Linked DNA regions of Homo sapiens: region 2 is linked to region 1. The links are contacts of gene promoters, found by promoter capture Hi-C in blood cells and fetal thymus (Javierre and others, 2016). All regions are on one chromosome and are shown on one strand. The core of a region is centred on a gene start or on the middle of the fragment in contact, and the rest is flanking DNA. Distances in the headings are between cores, read along the strand shown.

The links. Contacts are between HindIII fragments. The CHiCAGO score rates a contact against its expected background, and 5 or more counts as called.
Region 2: a fragment that was not itself captured here is called in contact with the fragment with the promoter of KRTAP2-1 in region 1 in 5 of 17 cell types (total CD8 T cells, naive CD8 T cells, total CD4 T cells and 2 more); the score reaches 8.2 in total CD8 T cells.

What each region holds. Positions count from the first base shown.
Region 1 is chr17:41,044,813-41,049,685 of GRCh38, forward strand. It overlaps KRTAP2-1 (keratin associated protein 2-1), which reads right to left and starts at 2,504. Exons shown (of 1, transcript NM_001123387.1): 1 at 1,729-2,504. The coding sequence starts at 2,455. The coding sequence ends at 2,069. The HindIII fragment of the contact is 11,978 bases long and covers 1-4,873 here.
Region 2 is chr17:41,537,063-41,541,898 of GRCh38, forward strand. No RefSeq gene overlaps it. Among named protein-coding and RNA genes, the nearest start is that of KRT19, 11 kb to the left of the region's middle. RefSeq lists an enhancer at 2,111-2,731. The HindIII fragment of the contact is 5,266 bases long and covers 1-4,836 here.

The sequences.
Region 1 (4,873 bases), core at 1,254-3,753:
GGCTGCATAGTATTCCATGTATATGTGCCACATTTTCTTAATCCAATCTATCATTGATGGACATTTGGGTTGGTTCCAAGTCTTTGCTATTGTGAATAGTGCTGCAATAAACATACATGTGCATGTATCTTTATAGCAGCATGATTTATAATCCTTTGGGTATATACCCAGTAATGGGATGGCTGGGTCAAATGGTATTTCTAGTTCTAGATCCCTGAGGAATCGCCACACTGTCTTCCACAATGGTTGAACTAGTTTACAGTCCCACCAACAGTGTAAAAGTGTTCCTATTTCTCCACATCCTCTCCAGCACCTGTTGTTTCCTGACTTTTTAATGATCACCATTCTAACTGGTGTGAGATGGTATCTCATTGTGGTTTTGATTTGCATTTCTCTGATGGCCAGTGATGATGAGCATTTTTTCATGTGTCTGTTGGCTGCATAAATGTCTTCTTTTGAGAAGTGTCTGTTCATATCCTTCACCCACTTATTGATGGGGTTGTTTGTTTTTTTCTTGTAAATTTGTTTGAGTTCTTTGTAGATTCTGGATATTAGCCCTTTGTCAGATGAGTAGATTGCAAAAATTTGGGAGAAAATATTTTCAAACTATGCATCTGACCAGGGGTTAATATCTAGAATATATAAGGAACTTGAACAACTCAACAGTGAATAATAATAAAAAATCCAATTAAAAATAGGTAAAAGACCTGAATAGATATTTCACAAAAGAAAACATACAAATTTCCAACACATATATGAAGAAGTGCTCAGCATCACTAATCATCAGGAAATGCAAATCAAAACCGCAATGAGATACCATATCACCACAATTAGAATGGCTATTATCAAAAATACAAAAAGATAACAAATGCTGGTGTGGATGTGGAAAAAAGGGAACTCATACAAGGTTAGAGGGAATGTAAAGTAGTATAGCCATTATGGAAAACAGTATGGAGGGTTCCCCAAAAATTAAAAATAGGACGATCATGTGATCCAGGAATCCCACTACTGAGTATATACGCAAAGGAAATGAAATCAGTATGTTGAGGAGATTTCTGCACTTCCATGTTTATTGCAGCACGATTCACAACAGCCAACATATGAAAACAATCTAAGTGTTCATCAATGGATGAATGGATAAAGAAAATGTGACACACACTCACACCCAAACACACAATGAAATACTATCAGCCATGAAAAAGAATGAAATACTGTCATGTGCAGCAACATGGATGAACCTGGGGGACATTATGTTAAGTGAAATTAACCAGGCACAGAAAGACAAATAGCACATTCACTCACTCCTATGTGAAATCTAAAGAAGTTGATCTCATAGAAGTAGAGAGTAGAATAGTGACTACCAGAGGCTGGGGAGGGTGAGAGGAGGGGAGGATAGGCAGAGATTGGTCTACAGGTACAAAGTTACAGGTAGATAGGAGGGATAAGTTTTGGTATTCTAATGTACAGTAGGGTGACTGTGGTTAGTAATATTTTATCATATATTTCAAAATAGCGATCAGAGAATATTTTAAATGATCTTACCATGAAGAAATGATAAATGTATGAGGTGACGAATATGCTAAACACCCTGACTTGATTATTACACAACGTATACATGTATGGAAACATTACATTGCACCCCATAAATATGTACAATTATGTGTCAGTTTTTTTAATTAAAAAATTAATTTAATACAAAATATTAGAATGAGTAAATAAAACCAAATCTTTTTGCAAGGCCAAAGAACAGATATTTATTAGAAAATAAACATGCCACGAAATCTTAAGAAGAAGGAAATTGCTTCTTTTACAGACTTCAGAATGGCCCAGGTCTTAATAGATGAGCCCAGTGCTCGGTTCCCTGCTTGGTTGATGTGGGGTTTTGTGGGCTCAGGGCAGGAGGTTTGTTAAAGTAGAGAAATGGGAGTGTGACTTTTTCAGAAGGTGAGTTACGCGTTCCGGGCAGTCAGTGCACTGCTCAGCAGGAGGAGGTCCTGCAGGTGGTGCTGCAAGGGGTCGGCTGGCCGCAGGGGGACTGCACAGACACAGGCTGGCAGCAGGTGGTGGCTCAGCAGGAGGAGGTCCTGCAGGTGGTGCTGCAAGGGGTCGGCTGGCCGCAGGGGGGCCGGCAGCAGGGGGACTGCACAGACACAGGCTGGCAGCAGGTGGTGGCCCAGCAGCAGGGCCTGCACACCACAGCCGTGCACGACGAGGGGCAGCAGGTGATGGGGCGGCAGCAGCCTTCCTGCAGGGAGCAGGGGTCGCAGCACACCGGGCGGCGGCAGGGCTCGCAGATGGGGCGCGTGCAGCGGGGCACGCAGGTCACGGGGCGGCACACGGTGGTCTGGCAGGTCACGGGGCGGCAGCAGCAGGGGTCGCGGCAGCAGCAGGGCTGGCAGCAGCCTCCCCCGTAGCTCAGGGAGGAGAAGGTGGAGCCGCAGCAGGAGCCGGTCATGGTGGTGTCTGAGGCTGGTGTGGGTTGGGCTGTGGAGAGGAGCTGGATGTTCTCAGGTGTGAATGTCCTCCTCCCCCTCTGGGCCCTTTATATACCCTGGCCGGGTGCAGGTGACCCTTTTCGTTTACCTTTTGGCCAATTAAGTAGAATTTTGTTTTGACTAATGGTTGCTTGTGACACACTCATTATCTCACTAAAGAGCTCTTGTTTTATCTCTAAGTATGGATGTACTCACATTGGGTGAAAATCTAAGAACTCATCGTCATTTGAGGTGATAGTAGCTCTTGATGCTTATTTTGAGTAGATAACACTGGATCAAATCTGGACAAAACGGTCTAAAAAAACTTCAGTTTTTAAAAGAAATTAAAAACATAGAGAAGTACATAGAACATTGAGTAGAGCCTATCCTGACCCCAATAGGGGACTCAAGTCCTTGGAAGCACCTACATGTGAAACGTGAATCACACGAGTGTTAGACAAGCCCTCCCACGTAGTCTGCTTGGGAATACGTTTGATTATCACTTGATATAGTGGGATACATAGGCCTTGAATAGGATAGCAGCTCATAGAGTTGTACAGGACAGACAAAAATTTTTGCAAACCACTAAGTGTTGGAATAAAACCTCCAAGACTGCCTTGCATGTTTTCTTTTCTCTAGTTCAGGTTCTGTGCAACTCTGGTCTTTCTGTCATAAGATGCTGATTTTTATCTCTGAAACATGTCATTTTTTAGCGTTGCCTTTCTTGTGCATGTAATGAAGAATTCTGTAATGGGAAATTTTTCTGAATATACCTTGTTGGCCGGGCGCAGTGGCTCATGCCTGTAATCCCAACACCTGGGGAGGCCAAGGCAGGTGGATCACCTGAGCTCAGGAGTTCAAGACCACCCTGGGCAACATGGTGAAACCTCAACTCTAATAAAATACAAAAAATTAGCTGGGTGTGGTGGCAGTGCCTGTAGTCCCAGCTGTGCCGGAGGCTGGGGAACGAGAATCACTTGAGCCCCAAAGGCGGAGGTTGCAGTGAGCCGAGATCATGCCATTGCACTCCAGCTTGGGCTACAGAGTGAGACTCCATCTCAAAAAAGAAATATGCATATATACTTTGACATAGGTGCTCTGATTAGCAAGTGACAAGAAAGGGGTTTTCAACCAACATTGCACACATATCCAGAACACTGTTCAGGGGTAGACGCATTGGGAGGCTGCCCAGTGTTCTGCTGTGGCACTGCTAAAAGCGTGATGGATGCGCTTCTTCAGGAAGTGTTGCCAGGGGCAGTTCAGGAACTACATGGGGGAAACAGTCCCATTACTTTCCAGCTTTACTCCTCCTGTTAGTCACCAGACAGGGTTTTGAATCACTTCGGGATCATTTTCTTTATTTGAAAGAATGTGCCTTGGGGCCGGACATCTAAAGCTCCCCAAATGGAATTTCAAGCATAATTTCAAAACTTTAAGAGGAATGTAAATTGACTGGACCCGGTAGTCACAATTAGGGAAACAGAAGAGGGAGATATCAGGCACAATCTCATCGCTAGAGACCTTTGACTCTCCTGTTTTACATTCTTTTCTTTGTTTACGGACGTGGGATTTTTGTTTTTCAAAGTGGTAACCAGAGGTAACTAGGTAAAAAGTTGTATATTCTGCTCTTTTCGAGACATATTATCTCATAATTTATTTTCATGCTGCTGTGGAGTCTTCATGATAATCACATTTTATGCAATGGGAGCCTCTTTGGAAGACTTAAATCATCACATTAACAAGACTCATTTCTCTACTGCAGAAACTTCAAACCCAAGGTCATTCTAAAGAGATCTGTCTCTCCCCTTTATAAAGATCTGTCTCTCCCCTTTATAAGGATCTGTCTCCCCTTTATAAAGGTCCAAAAAGATAATCTGTGCATCACTCAGTAACCTTTCTAGTGTTTATTCACTCTAAGACACTTATCCACACCCCATAGCCAAACTTCGTTTTCAGGCAGAGAAAATATGGGTCATGCTTCAGTTATTCATGCCTCAGAGTTGTAAGAGCACAGACAGCTCTGCGGTTTGACACTTGGTGGCAAGTCACATCCTATTTTCTGACCCCACTTATTCTGAAACTGGACAATGCTCATTTAAAGCTCTGCCACTTACTGGCTGTGTGTCCTTGGGCCATAATAATAGTTCATATCAGAATTGTAAGGATTACATGAGCTAATATTTGTCAAGTGCTAAGAACAAACAATGTCTGGCACTTAGTGTCTTGTATTTGTTAAATATATATATATATAGTAAATATATATATACACACATATATACACATATATAGTAACATGACCTTTTACTATATATATAGTAAAATATATATAGTATATATGTATATATACATATGTATTACATATATAGTAAAATATGTATAGTATATATGTATACAGTATA
Region 2 (4,836 bases), core at 1,108-3,607, 490 kb after region 1:
GCATTCCCACCCCCACCCACTTGCCCAGCACTTACCACAGCTCTGTCTCCCCATCTAGACTTGGAGCTTCTGTATCTAGCCCCAGGGCTGACTCCAGCACTAGTAAACATTTAATGATTATTTGCCAGAACAGAGCCTTCTCCTGAAGCCCTTTTATTTTTTTTCATTTAACACCAATTATGGTCCACCTTCTGTGTGCCAGGCACCTTCTAGACTCTGGGCTTCAAGAGCAGGGCAGTCTAAAGCTGCCTGCCCTCCTGGGGCTTTCATCTGGGGTAGGGGGCAGAGTAGCAAAGCCAGGGAGGGGGTCAGCAGGGAAGGCCATTGAGGGGTGGTCAGGGAAGGCCTCTCTGAGGAGGTGACACATGAACAGAGACCTGAATGAGGCAAAGGAGCCCTCAGATCCCCAGGGAAGATTATTCCAAGCCAAGGGCACAGCAAAGCCAAAATCCCTAAGGAAGAGGGAGCTTGGTCTGTTCAGGCAACACCAAGAAGTCCCAGTGGTTAAGAGGGGTGAGCCAGAATGACAGTGTGCAGGAGATGAGCCCAGGGGAGGCCAGGACAGAGCACTCGGTGTCTGCGGTCTAATGGAGGCGCTGGCTTTTATCTTGAGAGTAATGGTGCTTTGAGCAGAGGAGCACTGGGACGCCCTCCCCACCCCTGGCTGCTCCCTGTGGAATAGACCGTGGGGCCCAAAGAGCTGGAGATCTAATAAGAGGCTCTAATGGAGTTCAGGTGAGAGACACTGGGGGCTTGTTCTGGGGAGACATCAGAGGACTTCAGGAACAGTGGCCTGGTGCAAGGGATATCCCGAGGGCAGAGCCAGCAGGTCAGGCTGACGATTCATGGGGAGGACAAGGGAAGGAGAGAATCTTGCATGGCTCCTGGTTGAGGTGTGAGCCTCCTATTTGCACTGAGGTCAGGAAGCTGGTCTGGGACGGTGGTTTATCTAATCCACCTCCAGGAAAGGAATCACACCGGGGCCCTCCTAGATCTGTGTTGGAACGCGTCCTGGCAGAATTAGGTTCTACTAACCAAGCAATGACTGTACCCCGATCTCTGCCAGCGCTGATGCCTGCTGAGGGAGGGGAAGGACAAGGGCTGTGTCCACCTGGGCCCTGCCTTCACAGACGGAGCCCACAGTTAGGGGTTGGTATGAAAGAGGCGACTTTCTTTTTTTTTTTTTTTTTTTTCTTTTTTTTTTTTGAGACAGAGTCTTACTCCATCACCCAAGCTGGAATGCAGTGGCGCAATCTTGGCTCAGTGCAACTTCTGCCTCTTGGGTTCAAGTGATTCTCCTGCCTCAGCCTCCTGAATAGCTGGGATTACAGGTGCCTGCCATCACACCTGGCTAATTTTTATATTGTTAGTAGAGGCAGCGTTTCACCATGTTGGCCAGGCTGGTCTCAAACTCCTGACCTCAAGTGATCCACCCACCTCAGCCTTCCAAACTGCTGGGATTACTGGCGTGAGCCACTGCGCCCAGCCAAGAGACAGATGATTTCTAATGAAGATCTGTGTTTTCTACATTTTCAAAAAAGCAGCAGTGAGCATGTCTCACCTCTAGCATGGGTTGAGGGGAGTGCTTATTATTTTCAATTCTGACTCATTCCAGGCTCCACTGGCTTTAGGCTGGCAAGCGGGGCCTTGCAGACTTGGGGGAGGGGTGGTCAGGTTAGTGAGTTTCTGGACCAGGTGAGCAGGGGGTTGGGGCAGAAGGGGCATTCCTAACAGCAGCTGGAAGGAGCTTCAGAGCTGCTCTGGAGACAGGATGCTGAGGCCCTGCTCATCCCGGCTCCAACCGGCTGCAGGATAAACATTCATCAGGCAGAAACCACAGAGAATCACATAGCGAGATGGGCTGCCAGGAGCTGGGAATACCAGGAATGCCCAGGCCTGGGGACTAAGGGGGAGATGAGGGAGAACGGGGGAGATCCCCTTTGCCCCAAGGAAGAGCAGCTGACGCCTGATCCCATGAGAGGGGCCTGGTATCTGAAGCGCTTTTTGAAGTCAGTTGAAAAGGAACACTATCCCACCTCAAAGACACACACACAGAGTATTAACAGAAGACAAAGCCTCACCGGCTCCCTTAGGCATCTCACGTGCATTCCAGGCAGGAACTACCCAGTGCCAGCATCAGCCCTCAGCAGGCTGCCCAATTACCAGCCCAAGGCCTACCAGCCGTGCCAGCACCAGGGAGGCACGGGGGATGCACCAAGGAACCACAGTGCCAGGAAGCATCTTCTGCCCTCCCCTGGCTCAGTCCTGCCAAGACCCTTCCCCCTCCAGTGGAATGTGCTGGAGTTGGAGAGGAAAGTGCTTCCTCCAAAGTCCTTGCCTGGGATTAGGGCTGGAGCCTGTGGGGATGAGAAGATCCACCAGAGATATCTGTCCTCGCTGAGTAAACATACAATGAGGACCTGGTACACAGAAACCGAACAAACACATCCCAACAGGGATATCCATGTCTGGGGCTTCAGAAGAAAGGGCTGGAGCATGGGGAGAAGAGAGGAGGCTTCACGAACCCCAAGTTTCCCATTCCTGCCATGTCCATGTTACCTCATCCTTATCCTCACCTTGACTGCTAAGAAACATAGTAAGCATCTTCTTGGCCGTGCACAGTGGCTCACACCTGTAATCCCAGCACTTTGGGAGGCCAAGGCAGGTGGATCACCTGAGGTCGGGAGTTCAAGACCAGCCTGACCAACATGGCGAAACCCCATCTCTACTAAAACTACAAAAATTAGCTGGGCATGGTGGTGAGTGCCTGTAATCCCAGCTACTAGGGAGGCTGAGGCAGGAAGAATTGCTTGAGCCTGGGAAGCAGAGCTTGCAGTGAGCCGAGATAGAGCCACTGCACTCCAGCCTGGGCAACAGAGCAAGACTCTGTCTCAAAAAAAAAAAGAAAAAGAAAAAGAAACATAATAAGCATCTAAAAGCCCAGCAAGATGATTTAGACAAAACTCCTACACTTGTAGGATGGGGGCATAGAAATCTTCTAGCCCAGAGATCTTCAAGCCTCGCCTGCTAAGCCCTAAGCAGAGAGGTGGGAGCTGAGCGGATCTGCTGTGACCACCCACACTCACACACACTTACACACCTCACACAGTATTCACACCTACTCACACATGCACACACATGCATACACATGCTCACACATACACTCACACACTCCCAGGCCTTCTCACACATGCATTCACACTGGTTTTATATACTCAGCTTTCTGTGAGATTTTGCTTCAGCAAAGATTCTCCCTCTTTTAAAGCCCAAACACGTGCTTCAGCCTACCTCCAGCAGTTTATATAGGTCAGAAAACTGAGAGAGAGTGGGGCCTCAGCCTGCCTAAAGTCCCACAGCTGGTGTCCTGCTCAGCAGAAACCAGCAGGCAGGTGCCCTGGAGCCAGGATGTCTGTCCCCAGGGGACGACCTGAGCTCGGGGAAGAGAAAGAGGTAAACACTGTAGGCTCCTGACAAAGGCAGGAGGCAGGCCAGGGTCAGAGGAGGGACATAGACCCGGGGCTGCTGGAGCTCAGATGGAGGGCACCCTGAGTGAGGGATCAAGGCCTGGGTAAGCAGGGAGGGCGCCCTGGAGGAGGGGGCCCTTCACAGCCCCAGGGTGAGCCACAGTAAATGGTGCCTAGAGTAAGGACATGGAGGTGGCGGATAGTGGGAAGTTCCAGTAAAAAAGAAATCTTATAAAAACAGGCTAAATGTATTGGCCTCTTCCTCTATGCCTAACTCTGTTCGAGTATGTGGCATCCATGAACTTGTTTAAATCATCGAAGCTCCCCTATGCTGTGGACACTGTCATCACTCCCATTTTGCCAACTAGGAAACTGAGAGCTACTTGCTTAAGCTGAGTTTGGTAAGGCACCGGGCTGGGATTTGAACTCACAAGGTCTGGGCCTGCACCTTGCGGTCTAACCACTGTGTCAAAGGAAAACCAGGGAGCAGAGGCTGCAGAGCTGGTTCGAATCAGACAACAAAGGGCCTAGCAGGTCAAGCCACTAGATTTGATTTTTTATTTTTTTCCTGCAGAAGCCAACAGTGATTGTTTGAGCCAGGAGATGATACATGCAAAGTACCAGGTGAGTCAGACAGCAGGTTTCCTGAGGCTGGAAACACAGGGCTATCACCCAGCTGGGTCAACAGCCCTGTCCCAGCACCCCCTCACTCCTTCCCTCTGCTGCCCCACCATCATCGCCTTATCACCTCAAGACCAAAGGACCACAGCCGCCTCCCCCAGAGCTGACCTACCCCGGCAACTCACCCCAGCACCAGGCTCATCTGTCTCAAGCCAGCTTTGATCAAATCCCTGCTCACAAATTCTCACAGTCAGCCTGTTCTTTACAGCAGCAACTCGCCATGTGGTCCTTCCACCCCCAGGACAGAACCCATGGAGAGGCGAGCCAGGGTTACTGAATCGAGTCTTTGTGGATGAACCTGCACCTTTAATAAGTCTGAATTTTTAATAAGTTCTCCAGGTGATTCTGAGGCTCACTATAGTGTGAGAACCACTAGCCTAACGCATGAGATCCATGAGATATGGGAGAGGCACAAAGATGGAGGGCCCCCTGAGTGAGGGAGCGAGGCCCGGGTAAGCTGAAAGTGGGTAAGCTGAAAGCAAGATAAAGTGGCTGAAAGAAGCCTAGCCGTGGGCCGTTTACCTGCTAACAGAGGAAGTCCACGTTAGCATAACTAAAAAGTAACACACCTAGTTTTCTGCTTTCTGTCTGGGTGACCCTGGGCACAGGTGATCAAAGCCTCACTTGGCACAGCTGCCAAATTGCCAAGAACTGTAAAGGTCTAAAATTTTACTCTTTTTGCAAGTTAAAA